2 separate regions of the Homo sapiens genome follow, and region 1 is linked to region 2. Evidence: promoter capture Hi-C in 16 types of primary human blood cells and fetal thymus (Javierre and others, 2016). All regions are on one chromosome and are shown on one strand. Each heading gives the region's core, a stretch centred on a gene start or on the middle of the fragment in contact. The rest is flanking DNA. Distances are from core to core; before and after follow the strand shown.

Region 1 (5,784 bases), core at 663-3,162, 270 kb after region 2:
GAGGTTGCAGTGAGCCAAGATCGTGCCACTGCACTCCAGCCTGGATGACAGAGTGAGACTCCATCTCAAAAAAAAAAAAAATAGTGGTGAATTTTGTCAAATGCTTTTTCTATGTCTGTTGAAATGTCCATATGAGTTTTGTCCTTCAGTGTATTAATGTAGTGTATTACAGTGATTGATGTTAATATATTATACCAACCTTGCATTCCTGGGATAAATCCCACTTCAATGTGGTATATAATCCTTTGTATATGTTGCTGGATTAGGCTGCTAGTAATTAGTTGAGGATTTTTGTGTATATTCATAAGAGATGTTGGCTGTAATTTTTCATCCATCTCCTTTGTGCTGTTACTGTTAAATAACATTTTGACAAAATGTTGACACATATTACATTCCTATATGTGCATAGCCCATAAAAAGTTACATGCATATTTTCTTATGCAATTACTTTTTAGATCAGTTAAGAGGAGAAGAAGAAATATGCAATTATACTTTATATTGTAATTATCTACTTTTACCAACACTTTTGTTTTTCATGTGGATTCAAATTAGTTTCTGGTGTCACTTGCTTTCTATCTGAAAAACCTTAAATATTTCTTGTTACTCAGGACTGGTAGCAATAAATTCAGTCAGATTTTATTTATTTTGGAGTGCTTTTTATTTTGCCATTATTGTTGAAAGATAGTTTTGTTGGGTATGGAATTATTGGTTAACAGGTTTTTTGTTGTTGTTTTGTTTTTACTGTTAAGCACTTTGAACATGTCATACCACGGCTTTCTAGCCCCCATTGCTTCTGATGAGACATCATTTGTCAATATTATTGTACTACTGGTACACAATGAATTGTATTCCTTTTGCTGCATTTAAGATTTTATCTTTATCTTTGGCTTTCAAAATTTGACTATAATATGTCTGAGTGTGAATGCCTTTGTGTTCATCCTACTTGAAATTCATTGTTTCTCAGATGTTTAGAATAATGTTTTTCATCAAAGTTGGGGAAATTGGTCAGGCACAGTGGCTCTTGCCTTTAGGTGATGAGTAAGCTCAGGACTTTAGGAGGCTGAAGTGGGATGATCATTTGAGGCTAGGAGTTCAAGACCAGCCTAGGAAATACAGCAAGACCCTGTCTTTACAAAAAACTTGAAAATTAGCTGAGCATTGGGGTGCATGCCTGTAGTCCTAGCTACTTGGGAGGTTGAGGCAGGAAGAATGCTTGAGCCCAGGGAGTCAAAGTTAGAGTGAGCTATGCTTGTGCCACTGCCTTCCAGGCTGGGTGACAGAGCAAGACTCTTTCTATAAACATGATAATATTAATAAATTTTAAATAAATAAGCAAATAATTTGGGGAAATTTTCAGCCATTGTGCCTTCTAATAATTTTTATGTCCCTTTCTCTCACTTCTCTCCATTATTCTTATGTGTATTAGTCCATTTTTACATTGCTATAAAGAAATACCTGAGACTGGGTAATTTATAAAGAAAGGAGATTTAATTGGCTCACAGTTCTGCAGGCTGTACAGGAAGTGTGGCAGCATCTGCTTGGCTTCTGGGGAGGCCTTAGGAAACTTATACTCATGGCAGAAGGTGAAGGAGAAACAGGCACATCTTACATGGCCAGAGCAGAAGGAAAAGAGAAGGAGCAGGGAGGTGCTACTTTTTTTTTTTTTTTTGAGCTGGAGTCTCACTCTGGCCTAGGCTGGAGTGCAGTGGTGCAATCTCTGCTCACTGCAACCTCTGCCTCCCAGGTTCAAGTAATTCTCCTGCCTCAGCCTTCCAAGTAGCTGGGATTACAGGCACCCACCACCATACTCAACTAATTTTTGTGTTTTTAGTAAAGACAGGGTTTCACCATGTTGGCCAGGCTGGTCTTGAACTCCTGGCCTCAGGTGATCTGCCCCCCCTTAGCCCCCCAAAGTGCTGGGATTACAGGTGTGAGTCACTGTGCCTGGCCCAGACTTGTAAATGACCAGATTTTATGAGAACTCACTATTATGACTAAGGAGGATGGTGCTAAACCACTGGAAACTGCCCCCATGATCCAGTCACCTCCCACCAGGCCCCACCTCTAACACTGGGAATTATAATTTAACACGAGATTTGGGTGGGGACACAAACCATATCATTTTGCCGCCGGCCCCTCCCAAATCTCATGTCCTTCTGATATTTCAAAATATAATCATGCAGTCTCACAAAGTGTTAACTTATTCCAGCATTAACTCAAAAGTCCAAAATCTCATCTGAGACAAGGCAAGTTCCTTCCACCTATGAGCCTGTAAAATCAAAAACAAGTTAGTTACTTCCAATGGGGGTACAGTCATTGGTTAAATACTCCCATTCCAAAAGGGAGAAATCAGCCAAAAGAAAGGGGCTTCAGGCCCCATGCAAGTTCAAAACCCAGCAGGGTAGTCGTTCAATCTTAAAGGTCCAAAATAATCTCATTTGACACCATGCCCCACATCCAGGGGACACTAGTGTGAGAGCTGGGCTCCCAAGGCCTTGGGAAGCTCTCCCCCTGTGGCTTTGCAGGGTTCAGCCCACATGGCTGCTCTCAAGGGATGGTCTTGAGTGCCTGTGGCTTTTCCAGGTGCAGGATGCAAGCAGCCAGTGGATCTACCATTCTGAGGTCTGGAAGACAGAGGTCCTCATCTCACAGCTCCACTAGGTAGTCCCCCAGTGGGGAGTCTGTGTGGGGGCTCCAACCCCACATTTCCACACTGCCTTAGTAGAGGTTCTGTATGAGGGCTTTGCCCCTGCAGCAGGTTTCTGCCTGAACATCCAGGCATTTCCATACATCCTCTGAAATTTAGGCAGAGGCTCCCAAGCCTAAACTCTTGCATTCTGTGCACCTGCAGGCTTAACACCACATGAAAGTTGCCAAGTTTAATGGCTTGCACCCTCTGAAACAGTGGCCAGGGCCCCTTTCAGCCAGCTGGAGCTGGAGCAGCTGGGATGCAGGGAGTAGAGTCTCAAGGCTGTGCAGGGCAGCAGGGCCCTGGGCCTGACCTAGAAAACCATTCAGTCCTCTGAAGCATCCAGGCCTGTGCTGGGAGGGGCTGCCACGAAGGTCTCTGAAATGCCTTCTAGACCTTTTCCCCATTGTCTTGGCTATTAGCACTTGGGCTCCTCTTTACTTATGCAAATTTCTGCAGCCTGCTTGAATTCCTCCCCCGAAAATTAGCTTTTCTTTTCTACCACATGGCCAGGCTACAAATTTTCCAAACTTTTACACTCTGCTTCCCTTTTAAATATAAGTTCCAGGTTCAGGTCATTTCTTTGCTCACACATATGAGCGTAGGTTGTTAGAAGCAGCCAGGCCAATCCGTAAACACTTTGCAGCTTAAAAATTTCTTCCACCAGATACCCTAAATCATCACTCTCAAGTTCAGAGTGCCACAGATCCCTAGGGCAGGGGCACAACACCACCAGGTTCTGTTGCGAATATGTAACAAAGGTTATCTTTGCTCCAGTTCCCATTAAGTTCCTTATTTCCATCTGAGACCTCCTCACCCTGGCCTTCACTATCCATATTACTATCAGCATTTTGGTCACAACCATTTAACCAGTCCGTAGGGAGTTCCAAATTTCCCCTCATCTTCCTGTCTTCTTCTGAGCCCTCCAAACTCTTCCAACCTCTGCTCATTACCCAGTTCCAAAGTCACTTCCACATTTTCAGGTATTTTTATAGCAATGTCCCACTCCTCAGTACCAATTTTCTATATTAGTCCATTCTTGCATAGCTATAAAGAAATTCCAGAGACTGGGTAATTTATAAAGAAGAGAGGTTTAATTGGCTCATGGTCCTGCAGGCTGTACAGGAAGCATGGCAGCATCTGCTCAGCTTCTGGGGAGGCCTCAGAAAACTTACAATCATGGCAGAGTGCAAATGGGGAACAGGCATGTCTTACATGGCCAGTGCAGGAGGAAGAAACAGGGAGGGGGGAGGTGCTACACACTTTTAAATGACAAGATCTCACAAAAACACACTCACTATCACAACCAAGGGGGATGCTAAATCATTGGAAACCACCCCCATGATCCAATCACTTCCCACCAGGCCCCACTTCCAACATCGTGGATTACAATTTGATATAAGAGTTGGGTGGGGACACAAAGCTAAACCATATCAATATGCTGGTGCACTTAGTGGTGTCCCATATTGCTCTGATGCTCTGCTCATTTTTCTTCATATTTTTCTCTATTTTTCAGATTGCATTATTTCTACTGATGTGTCAAGTTCACTGATTCTTTTCTCTGCCAACTCAAATCTACTGTTTATCCTATCCAGTGAATTTTTCATTTTGTTTTTGTTTTGTTTTGTTTTAGAGGTGAGGTCTCACTATGTTGCCCAGGCTGTTCTCGAACTTCTGGGCTCAAGCAATCCTCCTGCCTTAGCCTCCCAGAGTGCCAGGATTACAGATGTGAGCCACCACTCCTGGCCTTTTCATTTTGTTTATTGTACTTTTCATCTCCAGAATTTTTTATTTGGTTCATTTTTATAATTTCTACTCCTTTATTGATACTCTCCAATGAGACATTGTCATTTAATCTTCATTTAGTTTTTTTTTTTTTTTTAAGAGACAGGGTTTCATTCTATTGCTCAGGCTAGAGTGCAGTGGTGCAATCATAGCTCACTGCAGTCTTGAATTCCTGGACTCAAGCAATCCTTCCACCTCAGCCTACCAAGTAGCTAGGGCTACAGGTGTGTATCACCACACCTGGCTAATTATATTTTTTTGTAAAGACAAGGTCTCACTGTGTCTCCCAGTCTGTTCTCAAACTACAGGCCTCAAGCAATCCTCTCACTTCGGCCTCCTGAAGTGCTGGAATTACAGGCATGAGCCACCACACTTAGCCATAACCAGATATTAATGGAAACAGGAAGAATGAAAAATTTGGTAATGATTGACAGTATGGGCAAAGTAGCAGGATCCAGTCCTATTAGCAGCTAGGTGTCAAAATCTATTCTGCTACATTGAGGAAGAATCTCTACCAGACAAGGGAGTGTTTACATATGCATCAGTTACTTGTGATTTACAAAGAGGTAAAGTAGATTAAATACAATGAACAAGGCTAGAAACTGTAACCTAGAAAAATGTGCTAGGAAGTGTGCATAGCTTTCCATTGAAACACAAGTATTTTTCTTCAATCTCCCTCATTTTGATAAGAATAACCTCAAAGAAAGCTTATTATCGACCCCCCGCCCCCGGTCCCCTACCACCATACACACACCACATCAGACAAAGTTAGTCTGATTAGATTTGGCCTGGTTATTTTTATAGGTACAGCAAGAATGGCCATTTACCATAGGCCTTCTGAGTTTGCTTTATTAGGATTTTGCATAAGGAGTGAAATTTTAAAAACCACTGAGGCCAAGAAGCCAACTTAAGAACTCAACACCAGATCTCACTGGCAGTATCTATAGATTTGAGCAAATTCCTCTCTTAGAAGGGTTCCCAAAATATCCTAAGTTTCCTGGGTTGGCCAGGAAAGGAAAGTAAGGAAGGTCGACCTTCCTTACTCACTTATAATTCTGGGAACACTGTAAGCCAGATACCAGGCTGGTTTTTCCAAGAGGGCTTTGTAAGTGTTGGCTCCATAAAGTCAACCTTAGCTCCTTAAAAGTGTCTGGTCATATATGATTAAATGAGCATCATCCTCAAGTATGACATTCCAGACAAGGCCTTGGTTGTATCTTCAATGTTTCCAACTATTTCCCATTAACAAGAAGGACATATTCTTACTGAATTTATGACAATAACTTCCATTTCCATGAAAATAAGAATAC
Region 2 (5,671 bases), core at 3,167-5,666:
ATGACTCAGCAATCTTATTCCTAGATATTACCCAAGAGAAATGAAAACATATGCCCACACAAGGACCTATACATAAATGTTCTAGCAGCTTAATTTAATGATAGCCAAGAACTGGCAAATGGATAACAGATTGTGGCACATCTATATAATGGAGCCCAGTCAGCAATAAAAAGAAATAAAGTACTGATATAGAATTCCACATGAATAAATCTCAAAAGCTTTATGCTGAGTGAAAGAAGGTAGTCTTAAAAAGCTATGTACTGGTTGGGCACGGTGGCTCACGCCTATAATCCCAGCACTTTGGGAGGCTGAGGTGGGCGGATCACTTGCGGTCAGGAATTCAAGACTAGCCTGGCCAACATGGTGAAACTAAAAAATACAAAAATTAGGCAGGTGTGGTGGCGTGTGCCTGTAATTCCAGCTACTCAGGAGGCTGAGGCAGGAGAATCACTTGAACCCAGGAGGTGGAGATTGCAGCGAGCTGAGATCACACCACTGCACTCCAGCCTGGGCAAGAGAGCAAGACACCAACTCAAAAAAATATATATATGTGCTGTAGGATTCCCTTTATATGCTATTCTAGAAAATGCAGATTATAGAGATAGAAATCCAATCAGTGGTTGCCAAGAGTTGGGGTGGAACACAGAATTTCTGAGGGTGATGAAAATGTGTATATCATGATGTGGTGGTGGATGCACTATAACATACATTTGTCAAAACAAGCAGAACTGTACATTTTTAAAGTGTGAGTTTCCCTGTGTGTAAATTATACCACAATAACCTGACAACAACAAAAGAGAGAGACGTTGGACTGCATCCATCCCACTCCACTTCTTACCAGGGAGCTCCCGGGAGCCTCTCTAGTGTCTGTCCTCCCTGCCCTGCCTGGGGTGGGCTGAGCAGCACAGCGTCCCTGCAGAGAGAATGGAGAATGGGCAATGCCCACACAGGGGAGTGGCATGGGGTGAGAAGGAACCTTAGTCCCGTCAGCCCTGACCACCAGCCCATCTCTCATCACTGTTCAGCAGAGTGAGCTCAAGTTGGGTTTCTGGCATCTATTGGCAGAGCCAGGGCCAAAACGCAAGGGGTGGGGAGTGTTGTACAGGTTAGGGCTGACTGAATGATCAGCCCTAATCTGTACAACGGATCTGTGCAGTCTGAGCTTCCACACAGCAGCAGCTGTCCTTGACCCCTTCCCCTCCTAGTCGGCCCCTCCCTGACCTTCCCAGGCCTGTGGGAAGTCCTGTTAAGTCCCAGGCCATGTCCACTTTGTATAAAATACTTAAAAATAAGGCCAGGCACAGTGGCTCCCGCCTGTAATCTCAGCACTTTGGCAGGCTGAGGAGGGAGGATCACTTGAGGTCAGGAGTTCTAGAGCAACACAGCAAGACCTCCTCTCTCCTAAAAATTTTTAAAAATCAGCTGGGCGTGGTGGCACGGGCCTGTGATCCCAGCTACTGAGGTGGCTGAAACAGAAGAATCGCTTGAGCCCAGGAGATCTAGGCCGCAGAGAGCTGTGATCCCGCCACTGCACTCCAGCCTGGGTGACAGAGCCAGAGAGACCCTGTTTCAAAACTTTTTTAATTAAAAAATTAATAAAAGATTTAACGTGACCCTTATAACAGTCACCTGAGACGGACGCTGACCCCATTTTACAAATGTGGACATTGAGACACAGGGAAGTTAAATCCCCCTGTCAGAAAAAGGCTAGCGGAGGTTTAAGGCCGTGGGAACGTGACTCCAGAGCTGAGGGCTTTGGAACCCCGCCTGCTCCGGTAGTTGTGGCTGGCCTTGCCCCACACACATTTGGTTCTAGCTCCTTTGCTTGGGTCTTCATCCATGCAGCGAATTCCTTAGCCACAGGTGTCCCTCTGCTCTCTAACTCACAGCGAGCTCGCTGCCCAAAGTCCTGCTCCGGCTTCCTGGGTGGACCTGACCGCGTTCGGGTGCACGTGGGGCGACTCACACCTGACAAGTAAAGCGGGTGAGGCCGCGCCTGTGAAGGGCGCCTGGCTCCTCCGCAGGAGCGGTGCGGCGCGGCGCCCCCGGCTGGAACCAGGTGTAACTGCAGAGACCCTGGGATCGCAGGAACGGCTGGCGGCAGGACTGTCCCTACCTCGAGAAGGTGACGGGGTTTCCTGCGCTGCCAGCCGATGAGGCGGCCGTGACGCAGCCCGCCGTGCAGAGTCCCCGTCGGCCGACAGGCGTGCAGAGCTCTGCAGAGGACCCTTCCGCCCTCTGGGCAGCCTGCCAAGCCGTGGCACCCCCAACCCCCAGCACTGGGCACTTGGGAGCATTGCAGCCGCCCTGGCTCGTACCGGTGCCGGTGCTTTGGGCACCTGGGCTGGTTTGGACATGGGTGCCCCGGGCAGAGTCCATTTATGCAGGTCAGAATCAGTGTGTGGAGCCTGCATAGACTTGCCCTGGAGCGGCTGCCTGTGCTGGGGTGGGGAGGAGTAGAGGGCGAGAAGTTGGTGGGGAAGGGAAGCGGCGCCAAAAGAATACCCACAACATCTTGCACCTGGAAGGCAAAGCAGAGGGCAGTGATCTCTGCAGACTTGCGGGGGCGACGCCTGAAGCAAACAGGGACATACAAGCTGGTGCCTTCTGTGGTTGTGCATGGGGTCTTCATGCTTCCTGTCTGAGTTCCCAGAAGCTTGTCTCTGCTTTTCTAGGCAGCTGCCACAGCCTGTCACAAACAGCTCCTGGTTCTCCACTTCTCATAGTCTCGATTTCAAAATCCATTGCCTCACCCTCCACCTCCTCTCCACCTCCACCCCTCCTAGCACCTCCTGACTGCTTGTGTTCTGTGTCTCCCCACTGTCTCCCAACCTGGGGTGGGGTTGGGGGGGATGTCTTTCCTCCTGTCTGCTCTTTGATGTCCAGCTGAAGTGTCACCTCCTACAGGCAGCCTCCCCTGGCTATGCCAGCTTGTACTGATTGCCCTCTCCTCTGAATTCTGTAAGCATTTCCTATGTGTACCTGCCCCTGGGCAAGGTGGGCCTGACTTGTTAGAGTGTTAGAGTTTTACCCTGTTCCTCTAGGAGGGCCTGGTACCACCACAGCCCAGCATGGTGTGGTGCCTCAGCAGGAGGCATCTGGTTACAATCAACACAAGCTGTTCCAGCCAATTTAAAGAAACTTCAGGAGGAATAGGGTTTTAGGAGGGCATGGGGACCCTCCTGCACCCGAAGCCAGGATGTGCCACCAATCATAAGGAGGCAGGGGCCTCCTTCCGCTGCTCCCTGGGACTCTCTAGGTGTCCGTGGCCTCAGTCCCCCTCTGCACACCTGCATCTTCCTTCTCATCAGCTTCCTCTGCTTTAAGCGTAAACATGGATGCCCAGGACCTGGCCTCAATCTTCCGAGTCTGGTACTTATGGTGTACTGACAGTGTGAGACCCTACTCCTCTGATCAATCCCCTGGGTTGGTGACTTCCCTGTGCAATCAATGGAAGCCAGCGAGGCAGGGTCACATGCCCCGTTTAGAGGTGCAGACTTGGAGAAGGAACGTGGGCAAGTCTTCCCAGGAACAGGTAGGGCAGGGAGGAAAGGGGGGCATCTCTGGTGCAGCCCGGTTCGGAGCAGGAAGACGCTTAATAAATGCTGATAGACTGCAGGACACAGGCAAAGGTGCTGAGCTGGACCCTTTATTTCTGCCCTTCTCCCTTCTGGCACCCCGGCCAGGAAATTGCTGCAGCCTTTCTGGAATCCCGTTCATTTTTCTTACTGGTCCACAAAAGGGGCCAAATGGAAGCAGCAAGACCTGAGTTCAAATTAAATCTGCCAACTACCAGCTCAGTGAATCTGGGCGAGTAACACAAAACTTGAGTGTCCTTACCTGAAAAATAGAGGTTAGAGGGATGCTATGTGCCATTGTGTGTGTGTGTTGGGGGTGGGGATTGGGGGTGATTTGTGAGCAATTGGAGGTGAGGGTGGAGCCCAGTGCCCAGCACCTATGCACTGGGGACCCAAAAAGGAGCATCTTCTCATGATTTTATGTATCAGAAATTGGGATGGCATGTCATTGGGACAGCGTCTTTTTTCTTGTATGGTGGCACATAAATACATGTGTCTTATAATTAATGGTATTTTAGATTTGACGAAATATGGAATATTACCTGTTGTGCTGATCTTGGGCAAACTATAATATCTCTGGGCAAAAATGTCCCCATCTGAAAAACAGGGACAACGTTCCTCCCTCAGCCAGCCACTATGGGGCTAAAATGAGACCACATCTGTCAAGGGTTTTGCCCTCACCTCCCTCCCTGCTGGACGGCATCCTTGGTGGGCAGAGGTGGGCTTCGGGCAGAACAAGCCGTGCTGAGCTAGGACCAGGAGTGCTAGTGCCACTGTTTGTCTATGGAGAGGGAGGCCTCAGTGCTGAGGGCCAAGCAAATATTTGTGGTTATGGATTAACTCGAACTCCAGGCTGTCATGGCGGCAGGACGGCGAACTTGCAGTATCTCCACGACCCGCCCCTGTGAGTCCCCCTCCAGGCAGGTCTATGAGGGGTGTGGAGGGAGGGCTGCCCCCGGGAGAAGAGAGCTAGGTGGTGATGAGGGCTGAATCCTCCAGCCAGGGTGCTCAACAAGCCTGAGCTTGGGGTGAAAGGACACAAGGCCCTCCACAGGCCAGGCCTGGCAGCCACAGTCTCAGGTCCCTTTGCCATGCGCCTCCCTCTTTCCAGGCCAAGGGTCCCCAGGGCCCAGGGCCATTCCAACAGACAGTTTGGAGCCCAGGACCCTCCATTCTCCCCACCCCACTTCCACCTTTGGGGGTGTCGGATTTGAACAAATCTCAGAAGTGGCCTCAGAGGGAGTCGGCAAGAATGGAGAGCAGGGTCCGGTAGGGTGTGCAGAGGGCCACGTGGCCTATCCACTGGGGAGGGTTCCTTGATCTCTGGCCACCAGGGCTATCTCTGTGGCCTTTTGGAGCACCTGGTGGTTTGGGGCAGGGGTTGAATTTCCAGGCCTAAAACCACACAGGCCTGGCCTTGAGTCCTGGCTCTGCGAGTAATGCATGGATGTAAACATGGAGACCCAGGACCTTGCCTCAGTCTTCCGAGTCTGGTGCCTGCAGTGTACTGATGGTGTGAGACCCTACTCCTGGAGGATGGGGGACAGAATCTGATCGATCCCCTGGGTTGGTGACTTCCCTGTGCAATCAACGGAGACCAGCAAGGGTTGGATTTTTAATAAACCACTTAACTCCTCCGAGTCTCAGTTTCCCCCTCTATGAAATGGGGTTGACAGCATTAATAACTACCTCTTGGGTGGTTGTGAGCCTTAACTGAAGTCATAATATCTCATGTTTACTGAGCATGAGCTATGTGCAAAGCCTGTTTTGAGAGCTTTATGTGGACTAACTCCTTTAATTCTCACAACACCCTTTAAGGCACAGATACACCACGTTATTCCATCCATTTTACAAATGAGGAAACTGAGGCATGGAGCAGTTAAGCATCTTGCCCAACATTGCCCTCCAGTAAGTGCTGGAGCTGGAATTTGCACCGTGCAGTCTGGCTTCATGGCCTGCCCTGTGAATCCTGTAAAAATTGTTTGAAAGACACCATGAGTGTCCAATCAACGTTAGCTAATATTCTCAGCCCAGTCATCAGACCGGCAGAGGCAGCCACCCCACTGTCCCCAGGGAGGACACAAACATCCTGG

Evidence for each region. The method cuts DNA at HindIII sites, captures the fragments that hold promoters and counts their contacts. A CHiCAGO score of 5 or more calls a contact.
Region 1: a contact is called between a fragment that was not itself captured here and the fragment with the promoter of PROC in region 2, in 1 of 17 cell types (neutrophils). The highest score is 5.7, in neutrophils.

Annotation. Positions count from the first base shown.
Region 1 is chr2:127,687,887-127,693,670 of GRCh38, forward strand. No RefSeq gene overlaps it. Among named protein-coding and RNA genes, the nearest start is that of SFT2D3, 11 kb to the right of the region's middle. The HindIII fragment of the contact is 6,533 bases long and covers 1-5,179 here.
Region 2 is chr2:127,414,011-127,419,681 of GRCh38, forward strand. It overlaps PROC (protein C, inactivator of coagulation factors Va and VIIIa), which reads left to right and starts at 4,417. Exons shown (of 9, transcript NM_000312.4): 1 at 4,417-4,482. RefSeq lists enhancers at 1,378-2,140, 2,521-2,580. The HindIII fragment of the contact is 16,432 bases long and covers 2,655-5,671 here.